2 separate regions of the Homo sapiens genome follow, and region 1 is linked to region 2. Evidence: promoter capture Hi-C in human tissues and cell types (Jung and others, 2019). All regions are on one chromosome and are shown on one strand. The core of a region is centred on a gene start or on the middle of the fragment in contact, and the rest is flanking DNA. Distances in the headings are between cores, read along the strand shown.

What was found. The method cuts DNA at HindIII sites, captures the fragments that hold promoters and counts their contacts. A contact is called where the count stands out against the background at its distance.
Region 1: a contact is called between the fragment with the promoter of IFNA13 here and the fragment with the promoter of IFNA14 in region 2, in 1 of the 25 tissues and cell types used here (neural progenitor cells).

What each region holds. Positions count from the first base shown.
Region 1 is chr9:21,366,250-21,369,511 of GRCh38, forward strand. It overlaps IFNA13 (interferon alpha 13), which reads right to left and starts at 1,808. Exons shown (of 1, transcript NM_006900.4): 1 at 1,123-1,808. The coding sequence starts at 1,761. The coding sequence ends at 1,189. The HindIII fragment of the contact is 15,253 bases long and covers 1-3,262 here.
Region 2 is chr9:21,238,014-21,241,390 of GRCh38, forward strand. It overlaps IFNA14 (interferon alpha 14), which reads right to left and starts at 1,992. Exons shown (of 1, transcript NM_002172.3): 1 at 989-1,992. The coding sequence starts at 1,922. The coding sequence ends at 1,353. The HindIII fragment of the contact is 10,904 bases long and covers 1-3,377 here.

The DNA.
Region 1 (3,262 bases), core at 558-3,057, 130 kb after region 2:
CTTTTCTGATATATATGCACTAATTAAGAAAATAATAACCATATATTTATAAAATAAGAAAATAAGCATATATACATATGTTTTATATATATACACTATATATAAAATATATATATAGTGTGTGTGTGTATGTGTGTGTGTGTGTATATATATACATATATATACGTATATATATATATGTACGTATATATATACACACACACACACATACACACACACACACACACACACATACATTCTAGAGGCTGGTCTGCCTGAGATTTAGGCAGAGACACAGTTCCAGACCATATTAATCACCATTGTCTCTATTTGTCCATCCCTCTGTTTCCTTTGTGGCTCTTCTCTTCCTTCCCTTTAAAGGTGGAAGGTCCTTAGAATCACGTTTAAGTCCTTTTCTCTGTCTACACTCTCTCCACACATGAGCACTTTCATTTCTGGGATTTTGCTTGCCACATATGAACTCCCAGCAATTGCATTCCTTATAATTTGCAAACTCACATATCCAACTGGCAATAGACAGTTTCTACCACATGTTGTATCAGTCAACTTATAGAGGATATCTGTTTATTTTTATTTCCTCACATGTTTCAGTTTACCTCCTGCCGAAAGAAATCATTGTTCATTCCTTTTTCTCCTTATAGTATTCAGGATAACTGATACTAAGTATGATTACTATTTTTAGTTTTATTCCATACAAAAATCAAACATGCAAGAGAGTAGGAAGTAGATTTATTGTATTCACCTTTATAACTTGAGTACAACATACAACCTGGTTTAGAGAAAGGTCATTTTTACTTACATCTCTCATATAATAATGATGAGTAAATAAATTATACCCTTTATTCTCTCATCAGGTTGCACAGTCAGGCTAGGAATTTTGTATTAAAGAATGAACACATACAGGAAGTTCCTATAGTAAAAGTTTAATGAACAACATAAAATAATGAATTGAGTAGATATAAGGAACATGTTTTATTACACTAACCACAGTGTAAAGATGCACATGATGTTATATGAACAAAAATAATTTAAATCTTATGAATAGCTAAATAAATATTTAAATAGATAAATCAGTTTATCAGCATGGTCATAGTTATAGCAGAAGTGAGAGTCTTTGAAATGGCAGAATTCATGAAAGCGTGACCTGGTATATGAGTCAATAAGAATTGTTTCATGTTGGACCAGGTGTTATTCCTTCCTCCTTAATCTTTCTTGCAAGTTTGTTGATAAAGAGAGGGATCTCATGATTTCTGCTCTGACAACCTCCCAGGCACAAGGGCTGTATTTCTTCTCTGTCAGATAGAGAGTGATTCTTCGGAAGTATTTCTTCACAGCCAAGATGGAGTCCGCATTCATCAGGGGAGTTTCTCCCACCCTCTCCTCCTGCATCACACAGGCTTCCAAGTCATTCAGCTGCTGGTAGAGTTCGGTGCAGAATTTGTCTAGGAGGTCCTCATCCCAAGCAGCAGATGAATCTTTTGTGGTAAAGAGGTTGAAGATCTGCTGGATCAGCTCATGGAGGACAGAGATGGCTGGAGCCTTCTGGAACTGGTTGCCATCAAACTCCTCCTGGGGAAATCCAAAGTCATGTCTGTCCATCAGACAGGAGGAAGGAGAGATTCTGCTCATTTGTGCCAGGAGCATCAAGGTCCTCCTGTTATCCAGGCTGTGGGTCTCAGGGAGATCACAGCCCAGAGAGCAGCTTGACTTGCAGCTGAGCACCACCAGGGCCATCAGTAAAGCAAAGGGCGAGGCCATCATAGATATTGCAGATGCTTCTGGGCTTGCTGAGATGGGTGACTCTGAACCTTGGGCTCTAGGTTCTCTGAAGGCTTTGCTTCCTGCAGATGCCTTAAATAGGGAACATACTGATTTCCACTTTCTTAATGCTTCTGGACCACTTTCCATTTCTGTTTTTGCTTTCCTTCTTGAACTCTTTACATGAGTTTAGAGCCGTGTTTCTCAACCATTTTGTTTTTCATTATTGTCTCCCCCATCTTGTTCCCAGAGACTTTTTAGATTTTTTTTCCTAATTGAACCCACCGTGAAAATTTAATAACACAGATATAATATCTATCTATTTGTGTACTATATGTATATCTCTATACTCAAAAAGTACAAAGTTTAATCATTTTATTCAATGCAAGTTTAAAAATAACCAAATGAAAATTTTAAGATAAAAGTTAAATTTAAACGCTATTCAAATTTAACTTAACTTTATAACTAAATTTGCTTGTGGGCTTCAATATAGTTTATTTACTGATATAAATTGTAATGTATTAAATTACATAAGAAATTTAACAAATTATAAACATTATCTAATGTTTCTAGATAAACATTATACAGCTAAGTAATGAATGTTTATGAATTATTTGAAACTGATAAAGACTTAATAATTTAAAATATTTTTATCATTTATTTTTATTATACTTAACTTTTAATTTTGTTGCATGTGAGAAAATTTTTAACTTCACTAGCTGCTAGATACTCACCTAGAGAGTGTGAAGAATTTTTTCTTCAATTCTTGACCTAAATATAGATGTGTTGAACAACTTCAGTAGAATTGTTAAAATATAAATTATTTATATTTCATTTCAAAGCCCACAACACAGACAGAAATGCTAAGGATCAAACATAAGCAATATCTATAAGATGGCCAGTGACAAACCATATGTATGCAGAGGACACCTCTCATGATATGACTTTGAGATCTAATACATCTTGGAAAGTACTCCAATCACAGCTACCCATTTGCCATAGGTTTGTAATGCTGAACTTTTATACCTTTTGTGTATCTTCCATGAACTCAATGTCAGTGCTTCTCATGTGATACACAAGAAAACCCAATGGAGAGAAAAAAAAAAAAACTAAGGAATAAGATTTTGTTAAATAGGTTGAGCTTTGAAGGGCCACAAACCATTTAAATATGTAAGATTTGTTCCCACTCCCAAGAACTAACTTCTACATCCTTGGGAGTAGTATCATATGCAATGAGAATACACAATTGAAAAAACATCCTCGATTTGATTAAAAATTTTTTGCATGAAAGTTCAAATTTCCAAGGTGCCTTCAGAGGTTCTTTGCTGATTCCTAGCAAACTAAAGGAAACTATCTTTGTCCTAGATGCGCATAATAGGATGTAAATATAATAACATAAATAAGTAGACAATTGTTTTACATAGCATGCCAGACACCAGATATCTTTCTTTCTCATTTCATTTTCATAGAAAGCAAAAGTTGTCACTTTTTGCATCCTAACTAA
Region 2 (3,377 bases), core at 742-3,241:
ATTAATATGATTTATCAGTGCATCACATTTATGAAATTTATTCATTGACATGTATTTTCAAAAAGGAAACACTATGCAGATAAAAGATAATCCACATTTTTGGCGGGTCCAACTTATTACTTCCCTCCATTGCAAAGGCAGATCTTTCACAATTTTCTGTATGTGTTATCCTGATTTTTCTTTTCTCATTGATTCTTCTACCTACCCCAGTATGGCTTCTGCTGATTAATTCTATCAATCCAGCTCTCAGTAATCTCTGCATTGCCATCTATTTTCTTCCTGTAGTGCTCAGTTTTAATTCACATTTTCTATAAGTCTATTGATTCTTTTTATAAGCATGTTTGTTTTCTAAATACACTTTTATCATCATTCCCTCTTCTCCTTCTAATATTGAGGTATTCCACCTCTGTTTTCTTTGTGTCTCTTCTGTTCCCACACTTTAATGGTGGAAGGTCCTCAGAATCCAGTTTAAGTCTTTTTTCCCTCTCCACTTCCTCCCCACATGACAGCCTTCATTTTTGGCCTTTCCATTGCCAGTTATGAACTTCCAGATATCGTATTCCTTGGAAACTGCAAACTCATATATCTGACTGGCAATGTACATTTTCAATTACATGTTTGAAAGTCAGTTTATCTCTACTTTTTTTTCCAGACATGTCTCAATCTACCTTGTGCTAAGAAGAATTCATTGCTTTTTTACTTCGTTACCATACAGCAGTTTGTATAACTGATATTAATTCAGCATTATTATTGTTTTTAGATTTATTTCCTGACAAAAATCAAAGATACAAGAGAACAGGAGCTGTATTTTTTATATTCATGTTTACATCCTTAAGGCAACATATAACCTGGTATAGAAAATGTATTTTTCTATAACTTGAATAAAATTATGATAGGTAACTTGATTAAATCATCTATTTTGAAATCAGGTTGTACAGTCAGGCTTGACGTTTTATCTTAAAAAATAACCAAACACAAGAAATTTTGTATAGTAAAAATTTAATGAAAAAGGAAATTAATATATTGGCTAAATATGAAGAACATATTTGTTATATTAACCACAATGTAAAGGTACACATGATATTACATAAAAAATAATTTAAATAATAAAAATAGTTAAATAAATAAATATTTAAATAAATAGATGAAAGGAGACATCAGCATGGTCATCTGTAAAGGACTAGTGCCTGCACAGGTATACATGATGCTTCTTTACACTCCTGAAAACATTTGAAAATTTTGATTCAACTTGTGGTGGTTATAGGAGAAGTGAGTCTTTGAAATGGAAGAACTCATGAAAGTGTGAGATGATGTATTAGTCAATGAGAATCATTTCCATGATGAACCAGTTTTCAATCCTTCCTCCTTAATCTTTTTTGCAAGTTTGTTGAAAAAGAGAGGGATCTCATGATTTCTGCTCTGACAACCTCCCAGGCACAAGGGCTGTATTTCTTCTCCATCAGATAAAGAGTGATTCTTTGGAAGTATTTCTTCACAGCCAGGATGGAGTCCTCATTCATCAGGGGAGTCTCTTCCACCCCAACCTCCTGTATCACACAGGCTTCCAGGTCATTCATTTGCTGGAAAAGTTCAATGTAGAATTTTTCTAGGAGGGTCTCATCCCAAGCAGCAGATGAGTTCTTTGTGCTGAAGAGATTGAAGGTCTGCTGCATCATCTCATGGAGGACAGAGATGGCTTGAGCTTTCTGGAACTGGTTGCCATCAAATTCCTCCTGGGGAAATTCAAAGTCATGTCTGTCCTTCAGGCAGGAGAAAGGAGAGATTCTCCTCATTTGTGCCATGAGCATCAAAGTCCTCCTGTTATTCAGGCTGTGGGTTTGAGACAGATTACAGCCCAGAGAGCAGCTTGACTTGCAGCTGAGCACCACCAGGGCCATCATTAAAGCAAAGGGCAATGCCATTGGGAATCCCGAAGATGCTGCTGGGCTGGTTGATGAGGGGTAACACTGAACCTTGGGTTGTAGGTTTTCTGAAGACCTTGCTCTGTGCATAGGTCTTAAATAAGGAACATACTAGCTTCCATTTTCTGAACGTCTTCATGTTTTTTTCTACTTCTCTTTTGGCTTTCCTTTATGTCCTGTCTACATGGGTGTAGAGCAGTTTCTCAACCACTTTTATTTTCAGTATTACCTCATCTTTCCCTGCCCCATGGGCTTTTTAGAAATTTCTTTCTAATTCAAAGTCCCATTAAATTTTAATAACACAGACATACCATATATTTGTTGATATACTGTACATATCTATTTATAAGGAGTGTAAAGTTTAATCTTTTTATTTAACATAGTGTTAAGAATGACCAAATGGGCTGGGCCCGGTGGCTCACACTTGTAATTCCAGCACTTTGGGAGACCAAGGCAGATGGATCACGAGGTCAGCAGTTCAAGACCAGACTTGCCAACATGGTGAAACCCCGTCTCTGCTAAAAATACAAAAATTAGTCGGGCATGGTGGCAGGTGCCTGTAATCCTAGCTACTCAGGTGGCTGGAGCAGGAGAATTGCTTGAACCCGGGAGGCAGTGGTTGCAGTGAGCCAAGATTGCAACATTGCACTCCAGCCTGGGTGACAGAGCGAGTCTCCATCTCAAAAAAAAAAAGAAAGAAAGAAAAAAAGAAGACCAAATGAAATTTTTAAGCTAAAAGTTAATAGTTAAATTTAAAACCCATGGACATTTAACTCAATTTGTTTGTGTCTTTAAAATGATTTATTTACCTATATAAATTGTAATGTGTCCAATTCCATCAGCAAATTAACAAATTATAAAAACACATAATAATACCTAATATTATAAAATACTTAAAAATCATTTAAAACTGCTAAAGACTACTAAAATTTAATTTTTTAACATTTACTTTTAGTCTAACTTAATTTTCTGTCATGTTAGAAAATGTTTAACTTCACTAGCTGCTAGATATTCATCCAGATATTGTATAGATTTTTTTCTCTTCAGTGCTTGACATAATTATTGATGTATTGAGCACCTTTAGTAGAATTAAATAATAAAATATAAAGTATTTGCATTTAATTCTGAAAGCCCACAGCACAGTCAGAAATGCTAAGGATTAAACATAAGCAACATTCACAAGATGGCTAATGACAGCCCATATGTATACAGAGGCCACCTCAGATGTTATGACTTTGATGTCTAGTAAACCTTAGAAATTCCTCCAATCACAGCACCCATTTGACATAGGTTTGTAACGCTGATCTTATATACCTTGTGTGTATCTTCCATGAACTCAATGTCAGTACTTTTCATGTGATACACAAGATAACCCAATGGAAAAAAAGTACTAAGGAATAAGGTTTTGTCAGATAGAGTTGAGTTTTAGAGTGCTACCAATCACCGAAATACCCA